Linked DNA regions of Homo sapiens: region 2 is linked to region 1. The links are contacts of gene promoters, found by promoter capture Hi-C in human tissues and cell types (Jung and others, 2019). All regions are on one chromosome and are shown on one strand. Each heading gives the region's core, a stretch centred on a gene start or on the middle of the fragment in contact. The rest is flanking DNA. Distances are from core to core; before and after follow the strand shown. Region 1 holds the start of INSL3 (insulin like 3). Region 2 holds the start of IFI30 (IFI30 lysosomal thiol reductase).

Region 1 (3,618 bases), core at 1,119-3,618:
AGCATCCTTCCCTCTCTCAACCTCAGATTCCCTCCTTGGAAAAACAAAGCTATAAGACCCCCTAGGCATGAAGCGGGGGCCAAGCATCCACTGAACAAATAAATCCTGCTCTATTCTGGGTCCACCAGCCCCTGCTCACCCAGAGGGGACAACCGTGTTGGGGAGACAGAGCTTCGGATGGGACACCCCCAGCCCTGCGTGTCAGGCGCCTTGAGAAGACCTGGGCTCTGCTCAGCCTCCTGTGACCTTGGGCAAGTTTGGGGTCCTTTCTCTGTGCCTCAGTTTTCTTTTTTTCTTTTCTTTTCTTTCTTTTTGTCTGGTGAGGGGACGGAGTCTCTGTCCCCAGGCTGGTGTGCAGCGGCACCATCTCGGCTCACTGCAATCTCCACCTCCTGGGTTCAAGTGATTCTCCTGCCTCAGCCTCCCGAGTAGCTGGGATTATAGGCATGCACCACCACATCTGGCTAATTTTTGTATTTTTAGTAGAGACAGAGTTTCACCATATTGGGCAGGCTGGTCTCGAACTCTTGACCTCAAGTGATCCACCTGCCCCATCTTCCCAAAGTGCTTGCATTACAGGCATGAGCCACTGCACCTGGCCTGTGTGCCTCAGTTTTCTCATTTGTACAGTAATAGAAACAACAAAATTCTGAACATTTCTGGTCTTGGAAGATGCCCGCTGTCTTCCCCCCTGCCCCCCAGAAAAGGCAGGATTATTACTTTTCAGTTGATCTATTTCATCTCTTTAAACTGGTTAAGACAATAGCGAAGACTTGGCCGTGTGTGGTGCCTCACACCTGTAATCCCAGCATTTTGGAAGGCCGAGTAGGGAGAACCACTTGAGTTCTAGATGAGCCTGGGCAACATAGCAAGACCCCTGCCTCTACAATTAAAAAATTAAAAATGGCCGGGCGCGTTGGTGCACGCCTGTAATCCCAGCACTTTGGGAGGCCGAGGCGGGTGGATCACTTGAGGTCAGGAGTTTGAGATCAGCCTGGCCAACATGGTGAAACCCCGTCTCTGCTAAAAAATACAAAAATTAGCCAGGCTTGGTGGTGGGCACCTGTAATCCCAGCTACTCAGGAGGCTGAGGCAGGAGAATCGCTTGAACCCAGGAAGCAAAGGTTGCAGTGAGTCGAGATCGCACCACTGTACTCCAGCCTGGGTGACAGAGTAAGACTCTGTCTAAAAAGATAAAAATAAAAATTAAAAAATTAAAAATTAGCTGGGCATTGTATTGCAGGCCTGTAGTCCCAGCTACTCAGGAGGCAGAGGCTGAAGGATCGCTTGAGCCCAGGGGAATGAGGTTACAGTGAGCTATGATCCTGCCATTACAGGCCAACCCAGAGAGATCCTATGTCAAAAATGAATAAATACCCTGGTGTGGTCGCTCTCGCCTGTGATCCCAGGACTTTGGGAGGCTGAGGCGGGAAGATGACTTGAGTCCAGGAGTTTGAGACCAGCCTGGGCAACATGGCAAAACCCCATCTCTACAAAAAAAATACAAAAAATTAGCCGGGTGTGGTGGCGTGGGCCTGTAGTCCCAGCTACTCAGGAGGCTGAGGTGGGAGAATTGCTTGAGTCAGGGATAGGGAGGTGGCAGTGAGCCCATATCGTGCCACTGCACTCCAGCCAGGGTAACAGAGCAAGAACTCATCTCAAAAATAAAAAATAAAAATAGGTGGCTGGGCGTGGTGGCTTACACCTGTAATCCCAGCTACTTGGGAGGCTGAGGTGGGAGAATCACTTGAACCCAGGAGGTGGAGGTTGCAGTGAGCCGAGATCGCATCACTGCACTCCAGCCTGGAAGACAGAGCAAGACTTTGTCTCAATAATAATAATAAAAATAATAATAGTCCAGGCACAGCTCATGCCTGTAATCCCAGCATTTTGGGAGGCCGAGGCAGATGGATCGCTTGAGGTCAGGAGTTGGAGACCAGCCTGGCCAACATGGCGAACCCCAGTCTCTACTAAAAATAAAAAATAAAAAAAAAAAAATTAGCCAGGCATAGTGGTGCGCACCTGTAATCCCAGCTACTCAGGAGGCTGAGGCAGGAGAATCGCTTGAACCCGGGTGTCAGAAGTTGCAGTGAGCCGAGATCAAGTCACTGCACTCCAACCTGGGTGACAGAGTGAGACTCCATCTCAAAAAAAAAGAAGAAAAAAATAAAAAAGAAAGACTCGTTGCCCAGTGCTCCCTCTGGGAGAAGTACATCCAAGGCCCTGGCCCTGGGAGAAAGGCTCTGGCACTAACCCCACCCTTGACCTTTTTCCTGGGCGGTCCTGAAGAATGTTCTGTCCCTTCTCCAAGGCCCCCAGCTGGGACGGCCCAGGCGCCTATAAAGGGGGTCCCCGCTTGGCCCCGGCGCCACCCACCACCATGGACCCCCGTCTGCCCGCCTGGGCGCTGGTGCTGCTGGGCCCTGCCCTGGTGTTCGCGTTGGGCCCCGCGCCCACCCCAGAGATGCGTGAGAAGTTGTGCGGCCACCACTTCGTACGCGCGCTAGTGCGCGTGTGCGGGGGCCCCCGCTGGTCCACCGAAGCCAGGAGGCCTGCGACCGGAGGCGACCGTGAGTGGGGACGGGCAGGGACAGCGCTCTGGGAAGCCGAGGTGGGGCAGGTGCACGTAGGCGCAGATGCACACGTGCAGGGAGGTGGGCAGGTTTGCATGCATGTGCCCAGGGCTCACCTGCCGGCTGCGTGCACAGATCGTGGGTCCGCACTGGAGTGTGTGTGAACGCGCGTGTGAAAGTCCCCAGAGCCGTTAGCCAGGCGTGGTGGCTCACGCCTGCAATCCCAGCACTTTGGGAGGCTGAGGCGGGTGGATCCCCAGAGGTCAGGAGTTCGAGACCAGCCTGGCCAAAATGGTGAAACCCCATCTCTACTAAAAATAATTTTTAAAAAAATTAGCCGGGGATAATGATGCACATCTGTAATCCCAGCTACTTGGGAGGCCAAGGCAGGAGAATCGCTTGAACCCGGAAGGCAGAGGTTGCAGTGGGCCGATATCATGCCATTGCACTCCAGCCTGGGCGACAGAGTGAAACTCCGTCTCAAAAAAAAAAAAAAAAGAAAGTCCTCAGAGCATGAGTCCCCCTGAGGGGCCAGAAACAGAGTGAGGCAGGAGAGGTAGGCTCTTGCAAGTACATGGTGAGATCCTGTCTTAAAATTTCAATATTTTGATCTTCATGAATTTTTGCCTTAATTTTGCTTTGTTTGTTTGTTTTTTGAGACAGGGTCTCACTCTGACGCCCAGGCTGGAGTGCAGTGGTGAGATCTCGGCTCACTGCAGGCTCAACCTCCTGGGCTCAAACCATCCTCCTGCCTCAGCCTCTGGAGTGGCTGGGATACAGGTGCTGCCACCACACCCAGCTAATTTTTTTTTCTTTTTCGTAGAGAGGGAGTCTCACTCTGTTTCCCAGGCTGGTCTCAAACTCCTGAGCTCAAGTAATCCTCCCACCTTGACCTTCCAAAGTGTTGGGATTAGCGATGTGAGTCACTGTGTCCAGCTTTAAAAGTATTTAAAAGTATTGCTTTTGAAAAGTATTGCTTTTCACAATTATGTTACTTTATTTTATTATTTTATTTTTATTTATTTATTTTGAGACATAGCCTCGC
Region 2 (5,792 bases), core at 919-3,418, 350 kb before region 1:
ATCCCAGCTACTCAGGAGGCTGAGGCTGGAGAATCACTTGAACCCTGGAGGTGGAGGTTGCAGTGAGCTGGGATTGCGCCACTGCATTCCAGCCTGGGCGACAGAGCGAGACTCTGTCTCAAGAAAAAATAAAAAAATAAATAAAATAAAGAAGGGTAGTTGTTTTCCTGGGCTGCACAGACAGCAGTGGTCAGGGCTAGGACTTGAATTTGGGTCTGCCTGGATGCAGGGAAGGTTACCACCCATGTCCCCCTCCTTGGGTGGAGTGAGGGGCGTCACTCACTAGTGGCAGACTTCTCTCCATGTCCTCAAACTCTTCCATGCAGACAATGGTCAGGAAGGCTAGCTCCATGTCAAGTTCATCCAACACGCAGGCCTGGGGTTTGGAGAGGGGGCAGGAGAGGGCATGAAGAGGGCCTAGGGTACCCTGACACCCTCTCGTAATAATCACCAGTACCCACCCAGGAGATAGGGAATAAAGATGTGATTAAATGGGAGCACACGAGGCAGAAGACAGAGCTGGCATCCTCGTATTTGCCTCCTGTACGTGGGACAGTTTTCCCCCACCCCAGTGTGGGGCCCTGGGGCCGCTCACCTCCACCTTGTTGAATTTGCACTCCTCTTCTCCATGCTGGCACTTGAACTCCCACCTGCCACTGACATTTTGTTCCTGCAAGGCAGCAGGGTGAGAGCCTGCTGGTAGGCTGGGTCCCCTGCTCCCCTGCCCACGTGCCTCAGTTTCCCCAGCGCCCACACACCTGTGCGTTTCCGTAGGGCACCAGCGTGACATTGAGGATCTCCATGACCAACAGCCATGTTGGGAAGAGCTCCCGGATCAGGAAGGCTCGGCAGCCACCGCACAGTGCTTCATAGTAGAGGGTCACATTGACAAGCGGTGCATTGGACTTCTTCAGGGGCCCCCGCAGGTATAGATTGCCTGTCTGTGGATTAGGAAGGCGTGGGAGGCAGGTGTAGCCCTGGGCAGTTCCCCACTTCTCTCAACCCCACTTGGTAGTCTTGTAGAAAGGGGGCTGTGATACGCAATTCATCTTGCACGCCTTCCAGAACTTGCCAGGTGGAATCTTGACTTTGAGACTTTTTTTTTTTTTTTTGAGATGGAGTCTCACTGTCGCTAGGCTGGTGTGCTGCGGCACGATCTCGGCTCACTGCAACACCCGACTCCCTGGTTCAAGCAATTGTCCTGCCTCAGCCTCCTGAGTAGCTGGGATTATAGGCACATGCCACCACACCCAGCTAATTTTTGTATTTTTAGTAGAGACAGGGTTTCTCCATGTAGGCCAGAATGGTCTCGAACTCCTGACCTCGTGATCTGCCTGCCTCAGACTTCCAAAGTGTTGGGATTACAGGCATGAGCCACCGCCTCCGGCCTTGGCCCATGCTCATTTCTTGTCACTTCACCTGGAGACCTTGCCTCTGAGCTGAGCAAGGGATCCACGTGAACCCTTTCCAAGTCCGACTGAATAGAGGCGGCACCTAATAGGTGCTGACTTCCGGCTTCAGCTGAGGGGTGGCGGGTGGCCCATGTCGCTGGAGCGGTGAGCAAGTCGCTCAGCCTCTAGGGCATCTGCCTAATAGGTCCCAAAGACACGCGAGCCCTGCCCTGGCTGGAATGAATGCATCAAGGGTAGCAGCAAGAATGCATGCCGGCGGCCCTTGGCCAGCTGCTGAACTTGTGCCCTGGGCCACAAAAGGAGACCCCAGCTCCTGCCCCAAAAGTACACAGTAGGCGCTCATTGAACCCTTGGGCGGGACTAGGCGGGTGGAGGCAGCTGCGCCTCTCAGATGCGGGATGCGAAAGCGAAACGGCACGGAGGGAGTGTGGCCGCAGCGCCGGGAACTGAACAGGGTTTTTCCAGGAACCCGGCAGGGACAGCGTCCCCTCGGGGCCCTGGTCTTCCCCTGTGAAGTCTGGGGAGAAAGAAGGAGCCGCGTGCCCCGACAGGGCGCCTGTTCCCTCCAGCCTGCCCGCCCTGTCGCCGTCCCTACCTTGTAGTTAACTGGTGGCCCATTCCCAAAGAAGTCTAACGCTTGCAGAGGGGACGCCTGCACCGCCGCCGTGGGGACGTCCAGCAGCAGCAGCAGCGGTGGCAGGAACAGCAGAAGTGGCGACAGGGTCATCGCAGCAGGGGCAAAGGTGTGGCGACTGCAGCGGCTGCCTGGGAAATAAGCGCCTTTAACCAGGCGGCGGTCCCGCCCCTAACCCGGGCCCGCCTCCCGATGCCCACGCCCCTCGGGTCCCGGGCCAGCGTCTCTCCCTCCTCCACTCCTTCCTCTGAGTGTCCCACCCCCACCCCTGCCAGGTGCTGGGTCCCCAGTCACGAGGCCATTGGGCCCCTTGGCAATCAGCCCTGCCCAGGCACGTGAGCCCTGGCGCAAGACTACCTTTAGGGGAGGTGAGGTGGGGCCTTTGAGACAGACACAGGCTGAGAGGAATGGTGGTGTCTCCACGCACCCCTAGACCTTCTAGGGGCGGCTAGGGGACTTGAGGCCCGAGACCCACTCTCAGAGTGGGCCTGTGACCTAACAGGGGTGACGTCGGATGGAGGCTGGGGATGGGATGGAGGCCGGGGTTTTGGGGGAGTAACTGAAATATTCAGGCCCCCGAGAGTGGGCAAGGCCTGTGTGGCCAGGTCTCCTCCCTCCAGTCTCGCCCGTGACCTCCCTCACACCCAACCCCCACATCCTGCCCCTCAACCCTTCCCCCCTCAAACTCCTGACCCCGACGCTCCAGACCCCTCACCGTGGTCCCGTGGGACTGACTCAGGCTTGACCACAGCCACGCCGGAAAGCAGAAGCTGGCGCAGGGAGTGGCGTGTCATTTCTCTAGGGTACCCACCCAGCCCCACTTCTGGCTTGGGGTGAAGAGAACTGGCCTTCCTTCTTTTCATCGTTCAAGGCTTGTGGGGGGTGGGGGGCAACCTGGCCTTCAAGGGACGCCCATGGGGGAGAGAGGCAGCCTGTGCTGTCTGGGATAGGGGTGGGGTGGCTTGGAGTCCACCTGGCTTTGGATTTGAGTGACAGAGCCTCAGCTTTCCCTTCTGTGTAATGGGGAGAAGGATAAGGTTTGGGGAACAAGAGTCACCATGGAGGGCTCAGAGGCAGGTGGGGGAGAGTTGTCCCAGGCTGGGGCTTCTGGATGGCATGGTCAGGCCTTGGTGCCTACACAGGACAGTGGCCCCAACAGTGAAGGCAGAGAGAATAGCCTGGAAAAAAGGCCCAGATGGAGGCTGGAGTGTTGGGGGAATAACTGAGACATTCCAACCCTGCCAGGCCTTACATTCAGGGCAAGACACATCGGATCCTAGGGAAGAAAATGTCCCACACCCAGCTGGAAGATATACCTGAGTCCCCAGCTGTGCCCCCCTCTAGTTGTGGGGAAGACCCTGGCCACACACACAGTAGCTGGTTTGGGAGCCGGAGCTTCTCTGAAGTCCCAGTGGCTGGATGGTCCCCGAGCCCATCCCTCAGACGACCAAACCGTTGGCAAAGGCTCCCCAAGACTCACCACCCCAACTTTGGTGCTTACCCTATGCCGGGTGGGATTGAAGAAATAACCATAAATATAATTGCTACAATTTTTCCAGTAGTTACCAGGCACCAGCCCTATTGGAAGAAATCATAAATGTAACCCTACAATGTATTGCTCTCTGGCTTGGTGCCAGGCATAGAGTGGGCCTACAACCCATTTTATCATTGAACCCTCAGAAGCATCCAGTTGGGGCTGGGGGTAGGTGCTACTGACTCCAGCTGGTAACAAATAAATGGCTGATCAGAGAGGGAAGGCTATTTTGCCAAGGACACACAGCCAGTGGTTGAGTGTTTTTAGAGACCACACGGGATATTCTCTTCCACCCCCAGCTCAGCATAGCTGGGATCATAAAGATGGCAACCTTTCTCCTGTGAGCACCTATGCAGTGAGAGGCACAATCTGGGCTGGAGTTATTTATGGGTTATCTCCAGACAGGACACATGGCAGGGACAGTGCCTGGCAAGGCTAGGGGGCTCTGAGGCTAAGGGAGGCAGGTCCTGTCCCAAGGTCCCAGCAGTAGACTGGGTCAGAGTGGAGGTTTCTTTCTGCACTTGCCCCAGGTTCAGCCTTGTTGGGCCTTGAGAGGTGGCTGTACAAAACAGACAAGGACAGTGAGGCCCCAGGGTTGGGGAGGGCTGAAGGGACAATGACGTCGCAGTGGGGGTGTGGATTCTGGGTGTGATGGGGAGGGTGGTAAACAGGAGTCCAAGTCAAAGACGCCATGAGGCCACGCGTGGTGGCTTACGCGACTCAGGGAGGCTGAGGTGGGAGGATCACTAGAGGCCAGGAGTTTGAGACCCACCTGGAAAAGGGCAAGACCCTTTTTTTTTTTTTTTTTCTTGAGACAGAGTCTCACTCTGTCACCCAGGCTGGAGAACAGTGGCACGATCTTGGCTTGGTGCAGCGTTGACCTCCCAGGTTCATCTGATCTTCCTATCTCAGCCTCCCAAGTAGCTGGGATTACAGGCATGCGCCACCATGTCTGGCTAATTTTTTTTTGTATTTTTAGTGGAGACCAGGTTTTACCATGTTGGCCAGGCTGGTCTCAAACTCCTGACCTCAAGTGATCTGCCTGCCTTGGCTTCCCCAAGTGCTGGAATTACAGGTGTGAGCCACTGCACTCGGCAAGATCTTGTTTCTAAAAAAATTTAAAAATAATTAGCTGGACATGGTGACACACACCCGTAATCCAGTGACTCTAAAGGCTGAGATGAGAGGACTGCTTGAGGCTGGGAACCAGGAGCTTGAGGCTGTGAGCCGCGAGCTGTGTTCGCACAACTGCACTCCAGCCTGGGTGACAGAGTGAGAGACCTTGACTCTTTAAAAAGAAACACAAAAAACCCCACAGGGCTTTTGCTCAGCGTCTCCTGGGACCCGGCGGGCTGTGCATGGGAGTGGGTGAGGAGAGGTCAGAGAAGAGCCTCCAATGCTGGCTGGAGGTGCCGACGACTTGAGAACATCAAAGACACGGGAGACTCCTCCCTGTGGCATGGGAGGGTTTTGACTTTTGACGCCACTTGGCAATGAATGAGGAAGCTGTGGATCAGGGAGGGGATACAACTTTCCCAAGGACACAGCTGATGGTTGCGACAGGATTCAAATTTGGGGGCGGTGGGCGGGGGAAGCAGCTTGGAAGCACTTGAGGGGCTGGATGGGGTCTGGGGTCCCCTGAGCAGTCGGGAGCTCAGGATTCGAATCTCTCTCCTGTATGACCTTGGGCACTGCCTCAACCTCTCCAGGCTTGAGCAGCTAAACTGGGGGAGGGAGGGGTTGTCGGGTCTCAGAGGGGCTTGGAGTTAAACCCACGGGTCCGACCTGCTGTGACCCCCGTAGACACCAGGGTCCCCGACACGCAGAGGTGGTACTGAAGCCCAGTCACTGACAACAGAATCACCCACGACGTTTGATGTTTTATATCATATCAATAACAACGTACCGTACAAAACCTGCCTCCCAGCTCGTGGGGCAGGCAGTGTGGTGGCCAAGGGCAGCGTAGAAAACCAGGGCTCTTGTCCCAAAAGAGGAGAGGAAAGAGGGTTTTGCAGTCAAGGAAAAACAGAATCAAAACCCAACATGATCGAAGAGAAGCCCTGAATCTGCATCAGAGGGAGGGGCCGTGGGCAGTGTCGCAACTTGGCCACTGCGGCGGCACCAGTACGGGGAGCTGTGATTCCTAGGAGGGGTTGGGGCCAGCTCACAAGTTTATTTATTTATTTTTTTGAGACGGAGGAGTCTCCCTCTG

Evidence for each region. The method cuts DNA at HindIII sites, captures the fragments that hold promoters and counts their contacts. A contact is called where the count stands out against the background at its distance.
Region 2: the fragment with the promoter of IFI30 here is called in contact with the fragment with the promoter of INSL3 in region 1 in 1 of the 25 tissues and cell types used here (stomach).

What each region holds. Positions count from the first base shown.
Region 1 is chr19:17,820,269-17,823,886 of GRCh38, reverse strand. INSL3 (insulin like 3) reads left to right here and starts at 2,368. Exons shown (of 2, transcript NM_005543.4): 1 at 2,368-2,570. The coding sequence starts at 2,381. The HindIII fragment of the contact is 21,957 bases long and covers 1-3,618 here.
Region 2 is chr19:18,170,189-18,175,980 of GRCh38, reverse strand. IFI30 (IFI30 lysosomal thiol reductase) reads right to left here and starts at 2,168. Exons shown (of 7, transcript NM_006332.5): 1 at 2,008-2,168; 2 at 759-941; 3 at 596-670; 4 at 284-376. The coding sequence starts at 2,139. PIK3R2 (phosphoinositide-3-kinase regulatory subunit 2) reads right to left here. Exons shown (of 16, transcript NM_005027.4): 16 at 5,449-5,792. RefSeq lists enhancers at 941-1,606, 1,734-1,803, 4,851-5,070 and a silencer at 2,114-2,423. The HindIII fragment of the contact is 16,563 bases long and covers 1-5,792 here.